Regions from separate parts of the Homo sapiens genome. Here regions 2 and 3 are each linked to region 1. Evidence: promoter capture Hi-C in human tissues and cell types (Jung and others, 2019). All regions are on one chromosome and are shown on one strand. Each heading gives the region's core, a stretch centred on a gene start or on the middle of the fragment in contact. The rest is flanking DNA. Distances are from core to core; before and after follow the strand shown.

The links. The method cuts DNA at HindIII sites, captures the fragments that hold promoters and counts their contacts. A contact is called where the count stands out against the background at its distance.
Region 2: a contact is called between a fragment that was not itself captured here and the fragment with the promoter of EVX2 in region 1, in 1 of the 25 tissues and cell types used here (spleen).
Region 3: a fragment that was not itself captured here is called in contact with the fragment with the promoter of EVX2 in region 1 in 1 of the 25 tissues and cell types used here (spleen).

What each region holds. Positions count from the first base shown.
Region 1 is chr2:176,082,155-176,086,435 of GRCh38, reverse strand. It overlaps EVX2 (even-skipped homeobox 2), which reads left to right and starts at 2,474. Exons shown (of 3, transcript NM_001080458.2): 1 at 2,474-3,086; 2 at 3,987-4,258. The coding sequence starts at 2,660. RefSeq lists enhancers at 1-649, 3,100-3,715. The HindIII fragment of the contact is 9,267 bases long and covers 1-3,049 here.
Region 2 is chr2:175,608,051-175,612,331 of GRCh38, reverse strand. It overlaps LOC107985962 (a long non-coding RNA gene), which reads left to right. Exons shown (of 4, transcript XR_007087312.1): 4 at 1-4,281. Among named protein-coding and RNA genes, the nearest start is that of LNPK, 390 kb to the left of the region's middle. The HindIII fragment of the contact is 4,145 bases long and covers 428-4,281 here.
Region 3 is chr2:175,628,151-175,632,431 of GRCh38, reverse strand. LOC107985962 (a long non-coding RNA gene) reads left to right here. Exons shown (of 4, transcript XR_007087312.1): 4 at 1-4,281. Among named protein-coding and RNA genes, the nearest start is that of LNPK, 370 kb to the left of the region's middle. The HindIII fragment of the contact is 4,114 bases long and covers 1-4,044 here.

The sequences.
Region 1 (4,281 bases), core at 1,225-3,724:
GCAGCCGAAACCGCGAGGAAAACAGATGGGGGCGCCAAACGACAGCAATAAAGGCATCCACGGATTTCCACCCAAGCAGTGCCTCGGTTCACCCACACTCCCGCCAGGGTCTCGCACCACTTCCCACCCCCACCACCCCAGCACGACCCGAGCCTGAACCAAGGTGTCCCATTCAGTCCCTGGAGCAAGCGAGGACTGGGTAGGGGGACCCTTCCTGGGTCACAGGAGCAGCGACTGCCAGGCATGGCAGAATTGGGCATCCGGGCTGCGGAGCAGGGAGGGAGCAGGTGGGGGCGTTGGCAGGGCTGGACTCCCACCGCGCTGATGGCCCCAAAGCCGGCGCAATGAGAACTCAGGGAGCTCGGAGCTGGGTGGCCAATGGGGCAGGGGCAGAGGTGGACGCTGGGTCAAGTCCCAGTCCCGGTGCGCTGGATGCCCACTCTGCGTTCCCCGCCGGTTCCCCGTTCCCCCAGGCACCGCCTGCCTATCGAGCTTTCCGTTTATTACCTTAAAGATGTGGAATTGATTTTCTAAGCAAAGCTCGCGTTGTTGAAATAAGTTGGCGCCGAGGGGAACAGAAGATAAACTTTTGGCATTGACTATATGTGTGTATATATGTATATAAATATACTTCACACCTCGCTTCCCCTTACATTCCTGATGCGCCCCCAACGGGTCTAAGGTTAAAAGGAAAGCGCCAAGAGCTATAGGCGAATAGATCTCGAGCTTGCCCCCTAACACACCCCAATGTTCTGGGTGTGTCGGCAGAAAGAAGAGGGGGCCCTGGTTGGGGTTCGGATTGAGGCTAAATGTGGGGATGCAGGACCCGCGCCCAGCGCCCAGATTGTCAGGGTCTCTCAGCCGCTTCAGAAGCTCACGGGCGGACCTCCGCGTCCCATCCCCGTCCTCCCTCGCCTCCGCCTGTGTCCGCGAATCTCTCTCCGGCTGGGCCGTTGGCGGGTGGGCACAGTGCTTGGAGGGTCAGGGAAGGGTGGGCGCAACCGCGGGAGATGAGGAGCGGCCTGGAGTGAAGATTGATCTTCGTTAAAATGGTTGCCACCGGCGTCATTATGACTATCAAAGTTGTCGCCAAGAGGCTCAGCCTCCAAGCCCAGGCCGCAGAGAGCTGCTGTAAGGCTGTTCGGCGACTCTCTGCGCCCGGACCCAACGCTGGGAATACCTGTGGCCGCAGGTAAGGGGCTGGGGTTGATGAGGGGAGGAAAGAGAGAAGGAAGAAAAGCAAAGGGGAAGGGAGGGCAGCGGGGAGGTAGGGGAAGAAGGCTGTCTCCTCTTTCCTCTTTTGACCTCGAAATCCAGCGCCTTTGCCGCAAATAATTCTATTTGAGGAGGGAGGGGAAAATCTGGCAACGTGAGCGTGGATTCGGAGCGCCCGTATGGCGCTGTAAATCTCCACTGTGTTTAAAGTTAGCTGTCGAATTCTGCTATCAAATCGTCCAGCCTAGTTCGTTTCCCCTCAGGAAAATGCGTAGGCGAGAAGGCTTTCTATCAGCAGGATTATAAAAGTAAAAAACCGGGGACTTCGAGTTCAGATCTCACTCTGCAGACGGTGTTAGAAAATCAGAGAGGACCTAATGATTTCCGTTTGGAGGCGCGGGCCCAATGCACCTCCGCGGCCACGTAGCAAGAAAGCGCTTTCAAAACTCTAGGATATTTCTATTTCTCTCTCTCTCTCTCTCTCTCTTTCTCTCACTCCGTCTCCCTCTCCCTTTCTCCCTCTCTCCCTCTCTCCCTCTCTTCCGCTCTCTCTCTCTCCCGGGGTGGGAGGAGAGCATTTAGGCTGAGGTGAAGAAATAGGGAGGGAAAGAACTCCGGCGTCCTATTTGTTAAATAAAATACATATTTGGTTCCGAAATCCGAAAGATAAGTAATCCAGATAGGAGAGGCGCAAGGTCTTCTCCTTACGCAACTCTTCCTGCATCCTCCCCCTTATCTCCCCCCACTTATGCCCCCAGCTTGTAAATGGTAAAAAAAAAAAAAAAAAAAAAAAAAAAAACCAAACCTTCCCGAGGACCTACTCTGGAAAGTCAAACCATTATCTATTATTTAATACGTATCTGTGTCCAAGGAAAAATGAAGAAGGCGCTGCATGATTAGGACCTAAGGGGCAACCTAGCAAACTGAGAGCGTAATGATGCCCCTAAATGAAGGGGGAAATGTGCCGCGGCGCGCTCTATTAATCAGACTGTCAATTTCACCCCCGAGGCCAAACCCCCGGGCGAGCAGAACTGGCTCGGAGCGGGCAAAGGACCGGAGCCTTCCTCCTCACTTGTCTCTTCTCGCCTCCTACCTGGATCTATTTGTCTGCTCTGAAGCTGCCTTCATTACCCACTGACAGGAGGGTGTATTTATTTGCTTATAAACCTGTTACAATAAATGATTATTCGAACAGCGTCATTCGTACCTTAATGACGAGCGGGCGCTACTTTTTGATGAATGACATCTCGGGATCGGAAGGATGTATGGGTCATTTTGACCAGTCATTCCCTCGCTCTGGCATCCCACAATTTTTCCGCCTCCCTCCGAAAGCGATAATAATATTTAGAGGCGTTCGCTGGGGCTGAATGAGAATTAGCCCTAGGCGCAGCCTATCATTAGGACGGGACAGCAGGGCCACTGTGACATTTTTAAGAAAGCTGAGATGATGGAAAGAATAAGAAAAGAGATGATTCTGATGGAGAGAGGGCTGCACAGCCCTACGGCGGGCAAGAGATTCTCCAATTTGTCCAACTCGGCTGGCAATGCTGTGCTCGAGGCCCTGGAAAATTCGCAGCACCCGGCTCGCCTAAGCCCGCGCCTGCCGTCTGCCCCCCTGCACAGCGCTCTGGGAGAACTCCCCGCCAAGGGCAAATTCGAAATAGACACTTTGTTCAACCTGCAGCACACGGGCAGCGAAAGCACCGTCTCCTCCGAAATCTCCTCCGCCGCCGAGAGCCGCAAGAAGCCGGGCCATTATTCAGAGGCGGCCGCTGAGGCCGACATGAGCAGCGACGTGGAGGTGGGCTGCTCCGCGCTTCGCTCCCCCGGGGGCCTCGGCGCCGCTCAGCTTAAGGAAAACAATGGCAAAGGTAACCGCGCCGGCCGCACCGCGCTCTCCAGTCCCATCCTCTTTGCTCCTCCGCGGCCCCCGCCAGCCTTTCCCGGTGCCTTTTCCCCTCTCAGACCCTCCACAGGCAAGCTACACCGAGCTAGCACGGGCGGGGGCGGGACGCATGTCTGGGACCGTGCCTTCCAGTTCTGCTCCTTGAGCTTTCCCGCCAGGCTCAGGCCTGCGGAGCCTGGAACACCAGGCCCACCCGCCCTCGCTCCTGAGTCCGAGAAAATGTTTCTGCGCTCGTGTCTAAGAGCCCGAGCGAGCCGGTAGACCCCTAGTCAGCAGCCGAGTTGCTTTTGGGAAAGGTACCCTGGGCAACTACTCTGAACTCCCCTGCCCCTGTGCCCTCAGGGCTGGAGGGGGCATTCTTCTGGGTAAGTCGGAGGAAGCCTCGCCGGCGTCTCTGTTTAGGTCAGCGGGAGAAAGAGTTGAAAAGTATATTTCACCCCCTATTGGCTTGGGTTTGAGCTACTGCTGTGTTGGAACTCTTAAAATATTTGAAACCCCGAAGACTCAGATAAAGGTTAGAGGCCGTATAAAAAGCTGCCCTGCGGTCTCCAGACCATGGGAAACCCAGAGCTTCCCAAACTGCGCCCAGAGGTAGGCATTTTCCCTCGGCCACTTTTCCTCCTTGGTTGAAAATTTCTAATTATTAAAAAAGAAATCTCCTAATTCCGTTTCTATTATTTGCTTATGAAGGGCTCCCCAAACTTTATTGATTCCATTAACGGCAGCAATTTGTAAGCATGACAGACCCCATCAATTCCGGCAGCGACTCTCCTTCCTGACGGGGCTTCCCCGATCCGCGCGCAGCGCCAGCGCCGGGCTGTTGGTCCTACAGCCACTCATGCGCTGTTGGTCGTTTGTTTGCCAGGGTACGCAGAGAGCGGCTCGGCTGCCGGCACCACGACGTCGGCGTCGGGCTCAGGCCTCGGAAGCCTGCATGGAGGCAGCGGAGGCAGCGGCGGGAGCGCGGCGCTGGGTGGCTCCGGCTCTGGCGCGGATCAAGTGCGGCGCTACCGTACGGCGTTCACCCGCGAGCAGATCGCGCGCCTGGAGAAGGAGTTCTACCGGGAGAACTATGTGTCGCGGCCCCGCCGGTGCGAGCTGGCCGCGGCACTCAACCTGCCCGAAACCACCATCAAGGTATCAATTCCAGTGCATGCCTG
Region 2 (4,281 bases), core at 1,251-3,750, 470 kb after region 1:
GTTCTAAACAGACAAGCTTTTCCTTTTCTTTGTCATATTTCCCACTGTCAGACTCCATGCATCTACAATCTTAGTTTATATTCCTAGCAAGAACAAAGCTGTATTTAACTTCCTTCTGTAGACATTATCACTGCATTGTTAATAAAGAAGGGAAGAAATAAGCTCAGAAGCTCAGAAAACACTCGATGGATGAGTGGAACACAAGACACTGCAGACAGAAGTGAGCAAATTTCAAAAGAAAACCTTTCTGCAGGTGCATTACTTAGAATTACCTTCAGATGTGAGTGACAAAGAACCCAAGATAACAGTGGTTTAGACGAGATTGAATTTTATTTCTCTCTCATGTAGAAATGCAGGTAGGTGGTCTGGGGCTGATATGGTGATATGGTGTTCCACACACCTTGTTTCTTTTCTGTGAGGCTGAGACATGTAGTTTTGACCACCTCATGCTTCAAAATGCTAGCATCTGCATGCTAAGGAATAGGATGAAAAAAGCAATTAAAGAGAGGAAGAGGGGAAGAGAAAAAGGGCACATGTGTGCTGTCCTCTCAGGAAGGTTTCTGGAACAACTATACAACCTTCTATTTACAACCCATTGGCCAGAACTCACACAGCCATACCTAGCTGCAGGAGAGTCTGAAAAAAAACAATCTTTGTTCTGGGAAGCCATTTGTTCAGTCAAAACCTGAGCTCATTTACAATGGTAGAATGGGACAAATGATATGAGGGAGGATGCCGTAGACTGTACAATTCTCACAAAAATGTTTGGCCCCTCATTTGCCACTAACGTCATATTCGGCCCTGTGATTTGCTTTAGACAATGAGATATAAGGCAAAGCTTTAAGAGCTGAGTGATGGTTTACCATGTCCTCTTTCTCCCATGCCCTGAGATTGGCAACATGTCAGAGGCTGTTCGGCCACTCGGGTCCTGGATATGATGACGTGAAGCACAGCTGCCACTAACCTATCACAGATATGAGACACCAGTGGAAAATAGAGCTCTGTGATCGGAAGCCACTGAGATTTGGGGACATTTGTTACTGCAGCATAACCGAACTCAGTGATTCTCAAAGTGCAATTCCGAAACCATTAGCATCAGCATCACTAGGGAATTGGTTAGAATGCAAATGCTCAGCCTCAACCTGAACTTACTGAATTAGAAACATGAGCAGCACCCAGCAATCAGTGGTTTAACAAGTCCTTCCTTCTTAAACCAAGAGAGATTCTAAATTGGGCTAAGTGTGACAGCCAGTGCTCTGGCCTATTTAGACAGATACAGGGGGGACTGACTATCTCTATCACACATGAAGGCAAAAACAGGGAGAAGGGGTTGCCATCTGTTCCTCCAGAGAGGAGAGAGAGAAGCAGCAGATTCAGTGACTACAACAGGGGAAGCGGCATCTTCCTGTCATTTGGTGTGACCTTAGCCCTAAAGGAAGAGACCACAGCTACAGAAGTTGTGAATCACAACTCTTCATTCCAGTGAGAAATCCAGTTATTGCAAGAAGAGAAACGGTTACTCCCATAGGCTTGAAGCTGCAGGAGTGGAGCCATACCTTAGAAATCTATGTCTTACTTCTTTGACCTTATGGCACCCTATTGTTATAGCTGGAGTGCACACAAAGCACTAAAACAACGTATCTTGAACATGAAAGTAACTTGCCCTATTAAATGGCCTATATCTGACTTTTTCCAGACAATACCACCTCAAAACAGTTGAGACACCCTAGGTTGTTCCAAAACATGGCTGACATGTGGGTCAATATACAGTGTCTGCATCCTGCTGAGAGCAGGATCTGAGGCTGGCCCCAGAAATTGCCAGGCTGTGGCTCTGCAGGGCTGGAAATGAGCAATGGATACATCCTCACAGAAAGCCTTCAGTGCCCATTTTCCACTCCCTGTCAGAACGTCCACATTGTCTGGATTACTCTGATCTATCAAGCAGAACTCCATGCTCTAGATGTTTTCTAACTATCCACCTTCCTCCCAGTTCTCACTCTCTCAAGACTCCAGGTGAGGAGTCATGAGAGAAATAGGCTGAAACCAAGATGTATGCTGCGTGTGGCTCTTCTAGATGTAGGGTTTTCTCAACCCTGCCAACCTATAAATGAGAGTGCCCTCTGCACAGGTGTTAGGAGATGTTCACAGGATTAAGCCTCCCATAGACCACGATGGGAAATCCAGTCAAAGCAGGGTGTGGTGCTTGAGCCCAGAAACCTCGGCAAGTAGAGGAGAGGTGGCACTGATATCCCTCCTCACTCCAGGCAAGTGAATGTATTTCCTCCTCTGGGTTTGTGAGAAATTCAGGTTTGAAAAAAAAATACCAAATAACCCTAATGAGGTGGCAATTTACCTTGAATTGGCAATATTCTACATACATTTGCCTCACAGTGTGAACCAAGCAAACCTCTCCATTGCATGAAGGAGCAAGCACCTCATTTGCTGCCCTAGGCTGAATAGTTGCCATACTTAAAAGAACAAACACAATTTCCCCAGGATACAACTTTTCATGTGCTACGGTCAGTTTTCACGCTAAGCTTTTCTATTAGTTATGTGGCATTTTCCTTAGAGCCCACGTGGAACCCACACTGTCTCCGTCCTACTGAATGCTCCTTGCAAAGAAGCCAAATGTCCTGAACGCCATGGGGGAAAAACACAGAGGAAACAGCTCCGGGCCTGACCCCTGAGCCTCTGTCCAGAGACATCTCCAGGGCAGTTGCAGGGCCCAGAACAAATCATCCCCACCATCCCCTGATATTTTTCTATAAAGGAAAATCAGATTTGAGGGAATCTCAAGGGCAGTAATGAAGGGGGCAGAAAACCAGAAGATGTCACACAAGCACATCATGAGGTTGACAGTAGGAACAAAGGAAGCTGGGCCGAAGGCAGGGAAGGAACCCAAACCCAGCGTCTCTTCTGCTTGTGGGTCTGAGAACTCCTGGGGTCTTCTGTTTAACACTGGTTACTCGGCCTTGACAGTGAATTTTAAACCTTTATTTTAGATTCTTTCTTTCCTTGGGAACAAACGGTATTGCTCTAAACTATTTAGTAGCTGTGGGAAGACTAAGACAAATAAGACAAAGGCAAGCAGCTTCCTGAAACTTCTGCCTGCCTGAAGGTATTGTATGTTGAGACCGAGGTGGGGGCCGGGGGCACGTGTTGGCCTACTTGGCTTTATTGGGATCAGTTCATAGAAATTTCTGGGCTCTGGGGCTGATGAGCCAACAGAGGAGAGGTTCCTCCTGGAATTCTGAGGTGAAAGAGATCCTCCAAGCTACTCTGTTTTGGGGTGGCTTGCTGCAGTGACCTACCCAATTAAACATGGCCATGCTATGGAAAGGGTTGCCCACAGCTGGCTGATGGCCCCCACATGTCTGACCTCTTGCCAGCATGCTCCCCATCTGTCCCTGCCCTTTTCTTCCCCCAGGTTTCTATGTCCCTATCTCTTCTTGGACTGATGTCTACTCACTCTTACAGGCAATTTTTTTGGGCCTTTCTCAATTGATAACCTAGGCTGAACAACTGCAGTGACCTCTGTCACTGCCATGATTTTCTGCAGCTCACATGAATGATTTAAAAACTACATACCTGGGCGGGGCACAGTGACTCATGCGTGTAATCCCAGCACTTTGGGAGGCTGAGACGGGTGGATCACGAGGTCAGGAGATCGGGACCATCCTGGCTAACACGGTGAAACCCGTCACTACTAAAAATACAAAAAAATTAGCCGGGTGTGGTGGCGGGTGCCTGTAGTCCCAGCTACTCGGGAGGCTGAGGCAGGAGAATGGTGTGAACCCAGGAGGCGGACCTTGCAGTGAGCCGAGATCACGCCACTGCACTCCAGCCTGGGTGACAGAGTGAGACTCCATCTCAAACAAACAAACAAACAAAAAACAAACAAAAAACTACATACCTCACCAAGTGCAGAGGCTCACACCTGTAATCCCAGCATTTTGGGAGCCTGAGACAGGAAAATTACTTGAGACCTGTCTCTACAAAATTACAGGAGTTTGAGACCTTGTCTCTACAAAAATAAACTTAAAAAATGTTTTAAATTATACACATATTCTAATAAAGGCAAATTATTTTCTATTTCTTAATGTTTATATTTACAGTCAAAACTTTTATAGCACCACAAAGGTAGAATTCAGCTAAAGATACTCACCTCCCATCTCCATCCCCACTAACCTCCCCCAGCCCAACTCTTCTTATCCTAATAGGGTCGGATCAGTTCCCATGCCTGGGAGGGGTGTGGGTGGCTTCCCTCCACAGCATTGTGCT
Region 3 (4,281 bases), core at 738-3,237, 450 kb after region 1:
GGGCACAATAACTGTACACACAGGATTGTGCATATGAAATTATAAAATGTATATAAAGAGGTGTACGTGACATTTGCATGTAGGAATACGTTAATGAATGTTGTTTGTTATTAGTACATTATGAATGCCAATATCAGTTAATGCCATTGCTTCTGGGTTTGGGGAAGCAACAGAAATAGCCACATAATTGTACTGACTATGTAATGTTCTTTTTCAGGACAGCCTAGGCCTGAAGTGAGGTTGCCAAAGTTATGTTCTTTATAGATGGAATATGTTTCCTCTAGTGAGAGGCAGTTTACATGTAGGCTTGTGGTTATTAATGTTTTTAACTGATGAATTATGTTGGAATTGGTGTATCTCTGCAAAGAATATTTCCAAATGGTCTTAAAGGAATGTCATGTAGCATTTATTACAGTCATTGCAATAGGGACACCTCCCACCTGCTTTAATTTAGTGACATTACTTCTGGTTAAAAGCCTTAGGTAAGGCCACACACAGTGGCCAGTGATTTGGATAATTAGAAGGAATGGCAGAGGCCTGTCTCTTTACAAGGAAGTTAGCAGTGACATGCAATTAAAGCAAACCTTTGGGGGAAGCCAGGTACCTCTAAGGATTATAGTAGATTGGGTCAAATCAAACAATATTTATAGAATTCTCTCCTTTCACAAAGAATTTCTGCTTGCTTATTTTTAATAAATTATTTCAGAGATAATGATGTTATTTTACATAAGTAGAGCAAGAAGAAAAGTATAACTTAAGCTTTATTTTCTCATAATTTTTTGTACTACACAGGCCAGCTGCAAACAGTTCACCTGATGAAGCATCTGAACCTTACATTATCATGTATGTATTGGTGTGGTGTTTTCTGCTTTAAAAGGTGCTTTCACATCCATTACCTAGTACAATCCCCACAACTGTAAGAGGCAAGGGAAGGAGTTATTATGATGTCCTCTTCAAACAAATAAATGGAAGCTGAGCTCTGATAAGGCATTTGTCATAGTCCTTTTATGGTTGAGGCAAGACTAAAAGTTGAGTTTTATGACTCATGGTGTAATGCTCTTTCCAACATATGGAACTGTTTTCTCAAACATAAATGTATGTTCTTACTTTCTGTGCTTTCCAAGAGTACAGTTTTCTTTCTCTCCCTGAGATGCTGGGGTGGTCATGAGTGCCTTGGAGAATAAGCTGAAAGCCCTAGACTTTGTCTTCAGAGAAAAAATGGACATACTCACACAGGTAAAAATTGACATTCACCTTCAGGCCGTCTCCTAAAATCTGCCTGGGTAATAGAATAGGGTGTCTGGTAAAATACTAGCCTGGGCTTGACTCCAGCCGGGTGGGGGCACCTGGCGTTCTCAGTAAAGAAGACAAAAGCAGGAGCCAGCATACCATTAATGTTTACTTAGCCCTTACTCAACACTAGGTGCTGCACTGCACACGTCATGTTGGTTCAAACCCCACAACAACTCTTGAAGCTGAGTGTTATTATTGGATTCATTTTATGGATGAGGACACTAAGAACATCTCACCTGAATTCGAAGCCAGATGTCCACTTTCCCCCACTCTGCTACACAGCCTCCCAAAGTGATAACTACGTGTCAGTGCTGAGTTGTTTCTCTGGTCGCTGGCCCATGCCTGTGTGCGGTGGTGTGGCTGGGAAGGTGGAAAGGGTTTTTTTTTTTTTTTTTTTTTTGAAGCTTTTAGCAGTAAGGTTCCTTGGGGAAATTGTGTTCTTGGGGGTGCCAGGTTAGAACTGTTAACGACCGTAGAAATGTGAAGTGTGAAAAGTGTTCAGATACAGGGACAGAAAAGAACAGGGCAGCATCCAATGGGTGGTCCATTTCTCCTGGGACATGTGTTGGATGTTCAGCTGTCATATTAATGTTTATGTATACCATGCTACATGTTCTCGCTGACTTGGCAAATGATTCACAAAGTTACTGAAATGAATGAAGTAAACTTCTCATGGGTAGACCTGGGGCTGGGGAAAAGGAAAAGGGAAGTGCCTACATTTGGGGTTTCCTGAACCGTAAATAATGATCGTGTTGCCATTCCCAGCAATATGCTTCTGTCATTAATTAAGTTTTATGGAAAGCTATGGCGTTCATGACTTTGGCCTCTTCCCGCTCTTGATCTATGTGGTGTTATGTGGTGTAGACAGCAGTGCTCATAGGTGGGATTTGTCTGACAGGGGGATTTGAATTAGTCTGATGTAAAGTGCCTGCTAATATATGGCATGCCACTGCACTGGGTGAGTAGGAAGGGAGAAAGCAATGATGATGTTCCCCCCTGTTGCCGCTGATTATTTTTCCAGCACCTATACAAGGAATCAGAATCCTGTTTTTTGTTAGGCTTAATTTTAAGGTCAGATTTTTTTCTGGTGTCGTTGAGAGAGTTGGGCTGCCACTCAGATTCAGCAGCGTGGTGCTGTGTACTTGAGAGAAGGGTCCATAAGGTTGGGAGTAGCGGGAGATACTGGCCCCTCCGCACTCATCAGGCTCAAACATGTTCAAGACCCCAGCAAAAGAAGTCTGAGTGGAGCTTTTTGAGGTGGCCTACACCAGTGTTAACAATGCTGCCAAAAAATTATCTCTCACCATTGACCTAAAGCCCTCCTGCTAGGTTTTCAGAGCAGTGGTTTTTAAAATATTAGCGTACATCAGATCACCCGAAAGGCTTGTTATAGCACAAATTGCTGGTCCCCCTGCTCAGAGTTTCTGATTTCATAGGTCTACGGTGGTACCTGAGAATCTGCATTTGTAACAAGGTCCCAGGTGATGCTGATGGTGCTGTTTCAGGAGCCAAACTTTGAAAACTACTGCCTTAAACTGACTATAAGGGCAGCAGTTAATAATATGGGTTTGGGAGTTAGACAGCTCTGAATTCAAATCCTGTTCTGCCACTGTGAAATTCTAGAAAAGCTGCCAAGCCCAGGCTTCCTCACCTGTAGAAAGGGAATTACAAACGTTTTGTTTGTTCTGTTTTGGTTTGGTTTCGTGAGGACTGAATGAGATAATCTATGTGAAGTGCTTAGCACAGTGCCAGGCACATGGAGGTGACATTACAGATGTGAGCTCATGCTATTGATATATTCTGCCTCTTAGAGCAAGGCCTCAAGTAATGTGGCCCGCATGTTAGGGCAAAGACACCAAGCTTAAGGAATCTCTTTAAAGTTAAGAAGTCAGAGAAAATGTAGGAGAGAAGAATCAGTAAAACGAAGACCATGGGACTTCTATTCCTTAAGGCTTTCTGATGTCTTGGGAAATAGAAAAGAAAACAAGCAAAGGTATCTATTTTGTAATAAGCAGTGAGAAAGTCACTCTCCACCAAGAGATGCCTTAGGAAGATGGGATTGAAATGGGAATCCTGAACTGACCATTGGGGCTATTAGCATTTCACATGTAAATTCCAATAAAGTGTCAGATATGCAGAGGTTAGTGGACTTTTTTTCTAAATGGGCTTTATAAGTAAAAGGATAAAGGTTACACAAACCAGGGAGAGCAGCATACAACAGAGGGATGCAGCATTTTGTACAAGTGTGTTAGTCGGGATTCTCCAGAGAAACAGAGCCAAAGAAGATAGATATTTATCTATGTAAATACATAGATAATATATTTTTGGCCCATGTCTTATGCAATTATGGAGGCTGAGAAGTCCCACGATCTGTAAGCTGGAGACCCAGGAAGTCTGAAGGTGTCTTTTGAAGTCCTGAGAGCTGGAGAGCTGGAGACTGGTGTAGATTCCAGTCTCAGTCTCAGAGCCTGAGGACCAGGAGTGCTGAAGGCAGAAGATTGACATTCAGCTCAAGGAGTCAGAAAGCAAATTTAACTTTCCTCTGCCTTTTTGTTCTATTCACTCACTCAACAGATTGGATGAGTCATGACTACAATGGGGAGGGCAATTTGCTTTCCTCAGTCTACCAATTCAATCTGATCTCTTCCAGAAACACCCTTCCAGGCATACCCAGAAATAAGTTTAACCAGCTATCTGGGCATCCTTTGGCCCAGTCAAGTTAACACATAAAATTAACCATCACAACATGAGACATATATTTACAAAGATACTGTGTGCTGGGGCCAGTTATGAAGCAAGTAATGTTTATCATCCTGGAGCCAACCCACAACTGTCTTCATCTTATTTCTGGATTTTGATGGGCTCTTTGCTCAGTGGAGTGAATTGTAACTTTCTATCTCCTCAAGCTCTACCCCACTGGCAAAATAATTACCGAGAAAATATTTACAAAAATTAATTGCTAGCTAGTGTAAATTATATCTTAAACTA